4 separate regions of the Homo sapiens genome follow, and regions 1, 3 and 4 are each linked to region 2. The links are contacts of gene promoters, found by promoter capture Hi-C in blood cells and fetal thymus (Javierre and others, 2016). All regions are on one chromosome and are shown on one strand. The core of a region is centred on a gene start or on the middle of the fragment in contact, and the rest is flanking DNA. Distances in the headings are between cores, read along the strand shown.

Evidence for each region. The method cuts DNA at HindIII sites, captures the fragments that hold promoters and counts their contacts. A CHiCAGO score of 5 or more calls a contact.
Region 1: a contact is called between a fragment that was not itself captured here and the fragment with the promoter of ABCD3 in region 2, in 2 of 17 cell types (non-activated CD4 T cells and naive CD8 T cells). The highest score is 6.7, in non-activated CD4 T cells.
Region 3: the fragment with the promoter of FNBP1L here is called in contact with the fragment with the promoter of ABCD3 in region 2 in 4 of 17 cell types (naive B cells, total B cells, naive CD8 T cells and 1 more); the score reaches 7.9 in naive B cells.
Region 4: a contact is called between a fragment that was not itself captured here and the fragment with the promoter of ABCD3 in region 2, in 1 of 17 cell types (total CD4 T cells). The highest score is 5.5, in total CD4 T cells.

The regions. Positions count from the first base shown.
Region 1 is chr1:93,838,406-93,841,878 of GRCh38, reverse strand. It overlaps a transcript of BCAR3 not described here. Among named protein-coding and RNA genes, the nearest start is that of MIR760, 6.7 kb to the left of the region's middle. RefSeq lists a silencer at 2,299-2,499. The HindIII fragment of the contact is 1,011 bases long and covers 1,409-2,419 here.
Region 2 is chr1:94,417,014-94,420,185 of GRCh38, reverse strand. ABCD3 (ATP binding cassette subfamily D member 3) reads right to left here and starts at 1,797. Exons shown (of 23, transcript NM_002858.4): 1 at 1,598-1,797. The coding sequence starts at 1,707. RefSeq lists enhancers at 1,206-1,345, 1,817-2,608 and a silencer at 1,676-2,055. The HindIII fragment of the contact is 10,166 bases long and covers 1-3,172 here.
Region 3 is chr1:93,446,501-93,449,984 of GRCh38, reverse strand. FNBP1L (formin binding protein 1 like) reads right to left here and starts at 1,867. Exons shown (of 17, transcript NM_001164473.3): 1 at 1,680-1,867. The coding sequence starts at 1,703. RefSeq lists silencers at 1,710-1,759, 2,699-2,993 and an enhancer at 1,240-2,218. The HindIII fragment of the contact is 14,675 bases long and covers 1-3,484 here.
Region 4 is chr1:93,623,222-93,626,338 of GRCh38, reverse strand. The region is part of intron 3 of BCAR3 (BCAR3 adaptor protein, NSP family member); the gene reads left to right. Among named protein-coding and RNA genes, the nearest start is that of BCAR3-AS1, 33 kb to the right of the region's middle. The HindIII fragment of the contact is 2,518 bases long and covers 479-2,996 here.

The sequences.
Region 1 (3,473 bases), core at 665-3,164, 580 kb after region 2:
GTGCACAGTGTTTAAAAGGGTGCCAAAAACTTGACCTTGGTTGCAGCAGGTGCTGGTAAAGAAGGTCACTGGGGTTCAGAGTACTGGTGACAAAGTCAGGCATGGTTCTGTGCCATCAGCCTGTTCAGAAGAGGACAAGAAACACAGCTAAGGATAAAGGGAACATGATCTGGTCCCGAAAGGGGAAGGCTTGGGAGGCTGATTGAAAGACTTAGACTGGTAGAGTGGTATTCAGAGAAGAAGTCTAGTCATGAAGGAAAACTGAGGCAGATGCAGGTATATCGTGTCTAAGGCAGGCAGCACCACCAATTCCAGATCTCATGGCTGGTTGCCTGGCTGACCAGGCTTCCAAGCCTAGTAGGGCTCAGGAAGGATGTAGGAGTATCTTGTAAGTGGCAGTTACCTGTCTCTGCTGTTGAGATGGCTAAACAAAGGCTGAGCCTTACTTGGGTCTTCAAGGCTGGTCAGGCTTGTCCCTGCACAAACAAAAGACCACATTCATTCATTTAAGCATTGAGACTAGCCAGGCTCTCCACAAGTCTCTTGGGACCCTTTGGTGAAGAAGACAAATGCTGTCCTTGCTGCCATGGACCTTGCAATCTTGAGCAAAGTCAGACAGCAGAGCATGAATGAGTATAGGAAATGGGCTTGACTTAAGAGATACAGCTGAGAAAGTCAGTGGGGCAAAGATCCGGAAGCGCTTCAAATGCAAGGCTAAGGAGCCTGGGGTTGAGCAGCCCCATGTCACCTCCTCCGAGAATTTTCCCAGACATTCTTCTGCAGCCTAGTCTGCTGGTGGTGGGGAGGGACTCCTGGATTCCCAAGGTACTTTCAAAGCTCTATAATTTTCTGTGTGGTTTTCTATCTCTTCTCCCAGACAATAAGCATCTTGGGGGAGTGGGAGGAAAGTGGGGGGAGCACGTCTTCTTTTCCTTTATCTTTGTAACCTCAGTCCCTAGCATTGTGGCTAGCTCACAACAAGTAGCTTTGAATATTGATTGAACAAATGAATGAGTCCTGTAGGCAATAAGGAAGCTACTTGACTATGTGCCTAGCTTATCTTCTGCATTAGACCAGAAGCTCTTGAAAGCTAAACATCCGTGCTTTCTAACTGTTTTGTAATTCTCCCCAAGGCTTGGCAGAATATCATGTACACAGTGGACACTCCATAAATGATGCCTGAATGCGTTTGTGGAAGTAGAAGTGGATCTTCAGTGTCCTAATTCCTGCTTTCAGTGACCCAGTTTGGGGGAGTAGGTCTTAAATTTCTTCCCCTCAGAATGACATCTCTGCCTTTTAAGTTCTCAACAAACTAGTAGGATGACTTCTTCTGGTAAGCATATTTGGAAGGAAAGGCATTCTGAGCCCCACTCGTGGGCCTCACAACAAATAACCATCTATTAAAGCTTAGTGAATCTTAATTGTTTAGCAGTTGAAAATAATAATGAAGTAATAACGCATCACACCAGGCACTTTTCTGGGTTCTTCATGTATATCAGACCTCACTTAATCTTCATAACAACCCTCTAAGGTAGGCAGGATCATTGCCCCATTCCCAGATGGGAAGGCAAACCACAGGGAAAGCAGCAGGATTGAATCCAGGCACCTGTCCCCAAGTTCACATATACCCTGGACTACAGCAGTTTCTCCTAGAAAAGAAATCAGGAGAGAATCAGCAAGCAACTGGGAGCAGACTTGTTAGACTAGCGGTCTTCAAACTCTACCACGCTCTAGAATCTTGATGCCCAGGATGCACCCTGAGGCCAGTTAAATCACAATTTCTGGGGATGGGACCCTGGCATCAGCATTTTTTTTAAACTCCCTAGGTGATTCTCATATGTAGCCAAATTTGAAAATAATGCCCTCTGCCCTTCCTGCAAAAATGCTGACCATGAACCAGGAGTATCAGCATGACCTGGGAGCAGATTAGAAATGCAGGCTCTCGGCCCCACCCTAGGCCTGCTGAATCAAATCTGTATTTTACTAAGATCCCCTCAGTGACTCATTTGCACTAAAGTTTAAAATGCACTGGTTTAGGGCTTAGGTATTCAAGCTCTCATTATTCCACTTGGGCTTCTGTTATTAGCATGAATTTAAATCCTTAATAAGCAAATCTCAAAACTCCATCAAAAAGCTCAGAATCAATCTGATATATTGGCCCAAAAAAATTACTTCAGAGGAAACTATGACCTTTTACTTCTCATTTTGTGAGGGAACTGAGGAAGAAAAGTTATATTGCTAATGGTGTCTAACAGAATGTAGATTCAGTCCAATCTAAAAGAGGCAGATGAATAACTCCTGGCTGCCTTCCTTCTTCTGAGTCAGAAGGATCAGGCCCACGACCTCAGTTAGGCAATGACCATACTTGAGTACCAAGCTGATTGATAAAGAAAATCCTCCAGCCAGAGGTATCTAAGCTTTCACAACTTCTGCTGTTTCCCCATGGTATGTTCCTGTTATAGACCCATAGATGAGATCAGCAATCCTTGTCCCAATTGAGATCTTGTTGTTTGTCATTCAGCTTTCTGAATCTAACTAGATACATTGCCCACTTTTTAGTTTAGTTTAGTTTTTTTCTTTTTATTTTCTTTTAGACTGAGTTTCACTCTTTTTGCCCAGGCTGGAGTGCAGTGCCACAATCTCGGCTCACTGCAACCTCCACGATTCAAGCGATTCTCCCACCTCAGCCTCCTGAGCAGCTGGGATTACAGGCACATGCCACCACGCCCAGCTAATTTTATATTTTTAGTAGAGATGGGGTTTCACCAGGCTGGTCTCAAACTCCTGAGCTCAGGTGATCCACCTGCCTCGGCCTCCCAAAGTGCTGGGATTACAGGCGTGAGCCACCACGCCTGGCACTTTTTAGTTTTTATTTGCCATTGCTTTGTTTATTTATAACTAAATAACTGAAATTTGGAACTAGACTCAGAATGTGTCCCAGTTCATCTGAAGGACATGGAGGTCCACTGGGATGCTCCTTATTTCACTATTTCACTATTTTTTGGTCTTTGCCCACTTTTTCCTTGAAATGATCCATTCTGTGCATTTTATTATATCTCAAGACATCAGGTAGATAGTCACAACCAGTAGCAAATACACCGGCTGAAATTGCCCTCCTTGCTTGGAATGTCTGCCCTTGAATGCAAATTATTTACTTCTGGATCCCTGACAGTGTAATTGTATAATAACTGCGTTTGTAGAATGGTAAGGTTAGCATCCCGTTTTTCTCAGATCTTCAGTAGCAGACTATAAATGACTAGAAAGGGGAGGGCTACTTAGTATCAAGTTTTTCAACACTAGTAATGGAGAGGTGCTATGGTTTGCATAGAGTTAGTTTGTCCCCACCAAAATGCATGTTGATATTTGATCCCCAGTGTGGCAGTGTTGGAGGTCAGACCTAGTGGGGGGTATTTGGGTAATGAGGGTGGATCCTTTATGAATGGCTTCGTGCTACTCTCATAGTAGTACATGTG
Region 2 (3,172 bases), core at 548-3,047:
CTTGTAAAAATTCTTCAAGCTCTATGTGTACTATATGTATGTGGCATGTATGTGATACTATATCACATATACATATAATCATAAAAGTAATCCAGAACTTGTAGGGCTGTCCTCGAGTCCCCTCCTCCATATTAAAACACCTGTTCTATGCCCTGAAACACTTCTTTGCAAAAACAGAATTCAAGTTAAAGGACCTAACATCTTCTTTCTACTGGCATGTTCCCAGGTAACAGGTAACTTCTATTTGCAACTGGGAGTTCATACAAACCAACAGAAAAACTTGCTTTTTATTTTCCCAAATTAATCCTTTTAAAAGCAAACTGAATAGAAGAAAAATGAGTAAGCGCTGTTATTGCCCAGACTATGCTGCAAATCATTTTCAACTCTGTTAAATGGATTTAGGAAGGAAAAGAAAGATCATCACTTCAGACTCTAGTAAGATAAAAACAGAAGGCGGCTAGAAAGAACTTAATGGAAAGGGTACTATAAACTAGAAGTCTATTTGTGTTTTAGCCCAAATTTTACTACTAATTAGATATTGTAGGCAAATCAAACACGGGAGGCAACAGTACCTGCTCAGAGGAATGAATGAAATAAAATTCATGAAAGTAGTATGTCAAGATTTAATACGAAATATTCAATGACTGGCAAGAACGCTTGGGAAGTAGCCTTTTCTCTTTCACTTGTCCAGCAAATAAAAATTGCATGTATGTGACATACATACCTGTATGTCGCAACCGTAATTCAGCTCTCTCTTTTTTACTTTTTCTGAACTGATAACCTCCCAAAGTTAAATCTAAGCACTGAAATTCTCCCGCGGTGGAAGCAGTGGCGTGTCATTAAAAAGGAGCTTGATCCTCACCTAAACCACACTCTCATCTTTCACCTACAGAGCCCAGGAAGGAAAACATTTCCCTCTAAGTCCGACAGAACCGATCCAGCCTTTCCGGATGAAATGCCACCGACCAAATGTTCACCGACCAAAGGGTTCACCGACTCCAAGGGCTCACCACTTTAGACGGCAATCCTGCCAAGTGGACCGGGAATAGTTTCATAGAAGCCACCCTCGCGACTTTCAATAGCAGTTAGTCGGGAATCGAGCCAAACCTCGTCCAAGTGACTTAGACACCAGCCTCCAGCCTGGCGAATCCAATCCCCATCCTCAATCACACATCCACGTCCCCAAAACAAATCCTTCACGGTCTGAAGATGAGATGGCAAAACCAGAACACACCCAGAAAGTTGACACAGAAGGGGGTGATGTAGGGAAGGGGGTGGGGGACACACCGCATCCCCCTCCCACCCCCAACTGGAGGCCGCTGCCTGAGTGCTGGCTGGGCGCCGGTTCGCCCGCGGGCACAGAAGAATTCGCACTCCCGGGGTGGAGCGAGGTCGCCGGACAGGCCAGCTGGGACCGACGCCGTCGTGGCGGGGACTCGCGGACACCCTGACATTGAAGTCCCACGGCAGTCGCGGTCGGCCCTCTCTCCGCCCGACCCCGTCGGGCAAAGAGACCTGTCGGCCGGGTGGGGAGAGAGAGCGCGCGGGGAGCGCCCGCTCCAGCCCGGGAAAGCTGCACGGCTACGGGCCTTCTTACCCGTGCAGGCCGAGGGCGCGGCGCCGCTTGTGGAGCAGGCAGAGCAGCAGGAACGCGGCACCAGCCAGCGAGGAGTTTCGCGCCGTCAAGTACTTGCTGAAGGCCGCCATGGCACTGCCGGTACCAGCGAGCCGGCGAGGGGACGCGGCGGCGGCGGCGGCGGCGGCTACCTTACTGCACGCAGCGCGGGGGAGACTGGGAGGAGAGCAGAGGGCGGGGCCGGCCGCGCAGGACCGCCCCCTGGCTCGCGCCGCCGCGCCGCCCGCGCTCTGGAGCCCACTTTGTACTTTGGCCCGGCGGGAGCGCGCTCGGCAGCCTCCGTGGGCGGAACAGTTCCCGGGACGCGCTCTGCGCACGCGCGGACTCCTTCAGGGTCTCCGGAAACGCGGCGCGGAGGAGCTGTTGCTACTCAGCCCTGCGAGGCGTCAGTGCTGCCCCTGCCTCACCCCTACCCTCCCACTCTTCGCGCGCACACCCCGGCTTTCACAATAACTGGATGAGCGGGCCTGGCCTGCAGCGACGACCTAGTGGGCCCTGCCTCTCCACTCCCGCGGTGATGTACCGTTACCACCCTCTTAAAGGAGCCCAGGAAGGAGGCGGACGGCCCCGTCACAGAGCGTGTAGGGAAAACACAGCACAGTGATTATCAGGACGAAACCAAACAATCGGAACTCCGCAGAGGTGTAGGGAGATGTGAGGAGAATGACACAGATCAAAGAGCTTTTTCCAAGCCAGTATTTTCCAAACCGCGGGTTATAATCTCTAGCGCATTGTGAAATTGGTTTGGTAGATCGGGATCATCACCCTCCGTTTTTAATAAAATTGAGAATAGAACAAAATAGAAAAGTTTCACAGTACATCACGTAGTAAAGGAGTTGTTTAGAGAAATTTCGATTTCAGTGTTTTGCACGTATGTATCGCCAGCGGCGATGTAAAATGTATGCAGATCTGGTCAGAAAAAAGTTTGAGAAACACTGTTCTTTGCAAAGGGACATTCAGAAGTAACAATCGTGCGTTGTATTAATGCTGGCCTCACTCCCAGAATCAGAAGGGCTTTGCAGATTACAACATTCTTCTCCTGTCTGACCCTATGTTGCAGGAATTGTTATCGCCAGCATTGAGCCTAGCATATATACAGTAACAGTGAATCGCTGTTTTCAGCTGAGGAAACTGGAGAAAAGCAAGTGTGTCAGAAAATAAGCTCATAAAACCTCGCATAATGCACATACATATTAAAGTAGCCTACAAAGTAGTGGTGCTGTGCCCTAGGTGTTTTCTCAATATAAATGAGCTGTTGCCTAATACAGGTTATGAGGATCACAAAGACGAGGTACAATAATGGCATGCGTATAGAGGTGCTCAACAGTGAATTCTAAATTATGCAGAACTGAAGCTCCTACTAATTCACTATTTGTCATGTGGACATTTTCATTACCTGGAGGGACAAAAGGTTTTGGCCCTCTGAAAGTTAACTGAAAACCGCTGACATAAGGCAGATTAATAGAAGAAAAAATTAATAGGAGAAAAGGCATACAAATTTAATGTGTATACATGGGAGCGTTCAGAATGGAGACC
Region 3 (3,484 bases), core at 618-3,117, 970 kb after region 2:
GTCATTTAAGTAGGCAAAAGTTAAAATATTTTGTAATTATAAAAACGAATGAATGCACTCTGGTAGGCATGAAAAAAATAAAAAATTTAAAAATTTAAAATAAAACTATACCCATTTCCTTTCATTGATAATTCACTATAATCAATTATAGAATGCACAAAGTGTAAGGGAAAAAGGCCAATAATGCCTGAGAAACTAACCAATGTAAAAGAATTAAACTTTATGTAATTCATTTACCATGCAATCCTCCCCAATATAAGAACAATTAATGCTATCTAAGAAACGGAATGAAGGGGCTCCTAAGGTATTTTCTCTTGGGTGGTGTGTTTTCAGACTGGGTAAGCACTTGTACAGAATGTTGCACAAGAGATTCCTGGCTGGCTAAGTAAAGCATTCACTAGATGGACTCTAAAGTCTCACAGTTCTAAGATTCCCAATCTATGAGTAGACGTGAAAAATAAGAAAACATTTTGCCTTTCAATTAACCCATTGGCTTTCACTCCCACCCTAGCTGGGCACACACATACTCAAAAGTTATTTCTCCCCTTTCTCTGCAGTGATTTCACGAGATCCTCGCGAACAAAAGGCACGGAAAACAGGCACAGGTGGAATAAAAAGGGGAGTGGCTGAGGCCAGGCGGCTCTCGGGACAGCGCCCCCACGCCCCCAGTTCTCCCGGCCGCACCTGAGAAATCACTGCCCTCCGCACCTGAGAAATCACTGCCCTCCACACCTCGACCCTTCCGCGCCGGCGCCAGGAGCAAATTCTCCGACCTATTACCCTCCGCCCGTACCTTGGCCAGACACTGGGCATTGTCTGGAGCCTCCTGTGCCAAAGAAAGGCAAGGAGGAAAGGAAAGGAGAGAACGAAGGAGAAAGAACAAGTGAGAATAAAGAACGGAAAGGGAAGTAAAGCAACAGGGAGACCGTACGCTCCTTTTGGTAAAATTAGCTTCCTCATCGATCACTCGATTTAATTCAGCCCCCAAAACCAACCCACCAGCCCAAAGGCTGCAGCCGGGGGTGGCCAAACCGGAGTCCCTCGAAGCTGTGCCCGCCCGAAGCACTGAGGCAGGGAGAGAGAAATGTGCGTGTGGGCTGGGCCTGGCTGGCCCGAGGCCGGGCTCCGAACAAAGCCGCCTGGGTCCCCATACCTGGGGCGAGGGCTCTGGGCGGCGCCGCCCCAGACGGGCGACGCCCTAGCCCCGCGGACCTGGCCCGGGCGAGGAATCGCGGCCGGTCCCCTCCCCGCCCTCGAACAGCGCCCCTTGGGGACAATGGGCCCCCTCCCCCGCCTCCGGGAGGAGAGATACAAAGGAAGAGAGGAGCCGCCGGGCGCGAAGCCAGGCGTCGGGAAAAGTGAAGGTGGAGGAGGGAGAAGGAACAAGAGGGGATCACGGCGCACGCAGGAGCCCGCGGGCTGCTCCCCCGGCCGTCCCGGGCGCCGCCCGAGCTGCACCACGGCGGCAAAGGCGGGAGCACGGACTAGCGGCCCCCTAGACCCCCGGCCGAGAAGGGAAGAGGAGTCTGCACACAAAGACGAGCGGGACCCTCACCCTCCGCCAGCGCCGGACCGAGGACGGCGGAGCGCGCTTTCACCGCCGAGGGTCCGCGGCGCCCGCCCAACCCGCGCTTCTCAGGGGCCGGGGTCCGTGCGGGGCGCCCCTCTCCCCGACTCACCCACAGCTCCGTGCCCCAGCTCATGGCGGAACTTTCTGGCCGTCTGGCGGTGCCGCTGTCCTTCAGTCTGTCGGCTCCACAGTCTGTCCGACCTCTCACTCGCTGGCCGGCGGGCTAGCAGCTCAGCGGGTCTACCTCGAAAGGTGCCGCCACCGCCGGGCTCCCCAGTGAGTGAGAAAGACGCGACTGGAGAAGCCTCCGCCGCCGACGCGTCCCCGCCTCCCCGCGCTGGGCGGGAGGGGGCCGGGGCCGAGGGGAGGCGGAACGCGGCGCGGGGAGGGGGCGGGGCGCAGTGCATCCTGGGATCGGGGAGGACCTGGGCTAGCCTGGCCACCGCCGGCGGGGTCCCCAAGCGGGCACCTGGTCACCCTCGCTGGCCCCTCTCGCTGGTCGAGTCTCCTCCTGCAGGTACCCCGGAGCTTGGACTGCCCCCACTCCGCTGCCAGTCGGACCCCTGTTTCCAAGATAGAAAGGGAGAGAAGGGAAAAGACCCCCACCGCCGCTATTATCTCATTCCTCCTCTGCGCTGAGCCCCTTTACATGAGGCAATTTTAGTTACCTGCCTTTCCTGCCTCTTGTCTCCTCCACTCGGGAGAAACCTTGACAGGGAAGCGTCATCCAAATCCTAGAGTTTAGACTGAGGAGAGTTGTGTTTTATTTTTTTAAATCTTGATGCTTAAGGTGATCTCTCCTTTCAAGCCTGATGCTTTGGCATGACGATTCTTGGGAACCACCAAAATGTGCACAGGTTGAACAGCAAATGTGAAGGCAACATGTCCCCGATTCTGTCTTTAATTAAATATTTTAATTTTATAAATTCTGTCAGGAAATTATAAAAAGAGGCAGCTCTTCCAGTAATCATTTAGGTATGTTGCCAGCGCACGAGATGGAAGACGTGGACAAATGTGAGCCGAGCTGTCACCTGCGGAAGATGAGAAGGCAGCTTGCCCCATGTCTGGAATGGGCACCTCGTGGGTGAGGGTTGGATGGGAGCCAGATTTTTCTCTGGTAGTGTAAACAGCTTATTCGGAACTTCAGATCTCTTTCACCTCCCAGTATCGGAACCTTGGAGGCAGGTCCACTACTTCCTTTTTTCTCTATGGAGCTACTTCCTGGCCTATCTCCATGGAAAGGCTGTTAGCTAGTTTGGCTGGTGCTACTAGATATCAAGTACGCTGAGCAACTCCCTAACATATGCTTTAGTATTAATAGCTTGTCTCCTAAAGCAAGCAAGCGCACACACACACACTTCAAAACAGTCAACTAGTAGAGTACTCCTCAGTGCGTCATGACAGCTGGGTGTTTTAGGAAGCTCTCCCAACGGGTTCTTTGTCAGCATTGAAACTCCTCCCCTACCTGGCCTGGACAGGTGTTCCAACCTCTTCCGCTTAATCCGTATTCTTTTGCCTAGCTGCGCTCCCTCTTGGAGTTGAGGCCAACAGCCTGAGTTCGCCTGACAGTCCAGTTGCTAATCTTCCTAAATTCTCTGCTGTCCTTTTCTGAGGCCACTTTAAGCATACAAATGCCCTCTTCCAAGTGGGTTATAGCCAATTTTTAAATGCTTAACTTTGTACCATGCAGTGAAAAGCCTGTGAAGGATTGAACAACACTTTCTAACATTTTTCTACATTGCCTCTATTCCAAAATAATTTCTTCGTTTATTTATGTCACCTAACACTGTTAACCGCCTCTCCCATCACTTCCTATCACTCCCTAGAATCATGAATGTATTTTGCAATTGCAAGTAACATTAATTAGTAAGGGGAAATGGATTTTTTTTTTTTTGAGACGGCGTTTCACTCTTG
Region 4 (3,117 bases), core at 488-2,987, 790 kb after region 2:
ATATTTATTTCTCTAGCAAAGTTTACTTTTAAGCTCAGCTTGCCCAACAGTTGCATTTACATTTAAAGAGACTTGTTTTTAATGTAGGAAAGACATTAAATTTTCATTTAAAAGTAAGGAAAAAATTGAGAGTCAATCCTTGAAGTAAGGGTTCTCAATTGTGGGCCTGTTCCTTGCAGTGGAGTGGATTGTGACACCTCTGGAAATGCTAACTCTATGTAACATAACCAAGTCATGATATACTGTAAAGATCTGGTTGCTCATCATATACTATAAAGTGCTAGGCCAGAAGCAATTGTAACTCTCCTCTCATTGCTTTATATTAAAACTCTGAAAACCCCAAGCTTGGTGAGGCCAAGGCTGGGTTATGGCAAGGTGCTCTGCCTGAGTATGCAAGTGTAGTCGAGGGAGAAATTTGTTGCAGGGATCCATTTACTTGGGACAGGCTGGAAGTGCGCATTCTCCTGATCCTTAAGCTTTTATTAATTGCTGCAGCCTTGGCTCCTTCTATGCTCCCAGTGTGGATTTGCTGGCTGAGCTCCATCCATCCTTTATGTGAATGAAGATAAGGATGTGTCAGACCCTGGGAATGAGAACATGCTGTTTGGCCCTTCAAGGCAATTTCCTTTCGAGTCCCAGCCCTCTCCAGATGGCATCTAATTGTTTCTTGAATGACCTCAGTGTCCAGGCTGCAGGAACCTGGTCTGAGAAGCCATTTCACATATTTATTAGCCTGTGGATGAGAACTTACTATATAAAGCCCCCATTCACATTCTCAAAAGAGCTTTTTGTACAGAAGAAATAAGGAAACTGATGGACTGTTTCCTGTGACCACCAGTCTTCAGCCGGATTCTTATTTTTACCAGGCCCAGGTGGGTGTATTTTGAAGGGGTCTGTGTGGTCCAGCTGAATCCATCCTGGTTCAGTGCCCTCCTGTCTGTCTCCTCATGGTCTCTACATGAAAGCCTTGACAGAATAGAGTCAAGTCCCCTTACCTCCTGGTTTCAGGATTACTTGAACAGAGTACAGGTAGTGTGAGTTGGGAATTACTGCATTCTGGAAGCCTCTCCCAGTTTGGAATCCCAGCTAGTTCAAAGTTTGAGAGAGTAAAATGACTCTTTTATTTTTGAGATGGAGTCTTGCTCTGTCACCCAGGCTGGAGTGCAGTGGTGCAATCTTGGCTCATTGCAAGCTCTGCCTCCTGGGTTCACGCCATTCTCCTGCCTCAGCCTCCCGAGTAGCTGGGACTACAGGCCCCCGCCACCATGCCTGGCTAATTTTTTTGTATTTTTAGTAGAGGTGGGGTTTCACCATGTTAGTGAGGATGGTCTTGATCTCCTGACCTCGTGATCCGCCCTCCTCGGCCTCCCAAAGTGCTGGGATTACAGGCATGAGCCACCGCGCCTGGCCGTAAAATGACTCTTAGGGCCAAAGTGGGAAGCAGCCGTAATTCAGCCAGAGGCTGGCAAGGCTGGCTTACCCGGTGAGGAGCATGACTTCTGTGTGGCCTGTCATCCCTCACGCCTCTGCAGTTCTGAACTATTTTTGGAGAGACAGGGAAGGGCCCCTACCTTCTTGCAAATACCATGAACAAGAGCCACGTCTCTAGAAATATGCATGCACACTTACTGCACATCTTAGTTCCAGGTGTTTGTGGACCCCAGGTTGAGAATCCCTGAGCTATCTCCAAATGTTCAGTGGGCCCCTATCATGTTCAGGCATTCCAATGATGACAATAAGACATGGGTCATGAGGCCAACAGACAAGGGCACCAGTCATTTTAATGAGTGCTTCAGTAGCTGAACCCTGGAGGACAGGGTTGGAGCTAGGGCTTCTTAAGGGGAGAAGGAAACCCCTACGGGCCCACACAGACTGAGAGCAGGGGCTCCCAAACTTCCAGGCCATGTCCACCTAAGGACTGTCTAAGGAGCACATTTGGGAAGATTTGAATGTGATTTGGAGATGATGTAAACGTCCTGTCCTTTGACCTGGAAAGAAGTCATGAGGGTTGCCCTCGCAGGTGACTGTACCGGGAAAAGCTCACCTGGCCTCAATAAGGGGATGTCTCAGCCAGTACCTCTAAATTGGGTCCTGTGGCCTTCCACATAGCAGAAAAGCCTTTTGGAAACATCCTCCAGGAGCTGAGGATGGTGCTGATGCCACATAAGCAGGGCTGAGAATGCAGTTTGTTTGTGCTTTCCCCTGGCTGGGAGGTGCTGGGTGTGGGAGCAGAACTCACCCCTACACCAGTGGCACAGTACATTCCAACAACATGAATCCCTCTCCCTCTTCCTAGAGGCAAATTCGTGTATTGTTATCCTTGAAAACTCAAGGCAACTCAATTATTTCCATGGAAGTCCCTGGAATAGACTGCAAAACACCATTAATTTCCATTCATTGCTGACACATGAGTGTACAACCCTATTATTAATGGGTGTATAATATGCATGTTTTCATGTAACATCAGTTCATGTTGGCTCCTTGTAGCATTTCTCAGATACAGAGATCACATTTTATACACATAATCTCCAACAGAGCCAGACACAGTATGTTACATCTCCATCTCAAGTTTTAATCTTACACTGATAAGGTGAGCCTGTAAACCCAAATTGATGGTGTGAGCTAGGAAACTTACCTCTGGGAAGGGCAGGGGTGGAGTGGCCTGGGTTGATGACTACTTCTGGGAAGGAAAACATTTTTAGGACCTTAGTCTCTTGCATCTGCCTCTCTCAGCACTTTGACCACATTCTCTTCCATCAGCTTCTTTATGCAGTGAGGGCCTGGCTGTGGGCTGCTCTAGGCTTATATTCTTAAGGCTTGTGGTCCAAGGGGAAAAGGGGATGTCTCTCTCAGCCCTAGTTTGAAAAGTCTCAGGGAAGGACTCTGTTTGGTCTCATGTCATTCACCTGCTTACTCTTGGACCATTCAGTGTTCAGTATTCTGATTGGCTCACACATCCATTAAAAGGATGAATACACATGCTACTCAGTAAAGCTTTTAAATATAATAGCCACCACCTGCTATCTATACCATTCCCCCCCTTACATTTTTAGGATCAGAAGTATATTCTGCTATATTTCTATTATCTCTATTCAGGATACATATATAAAATGTTGA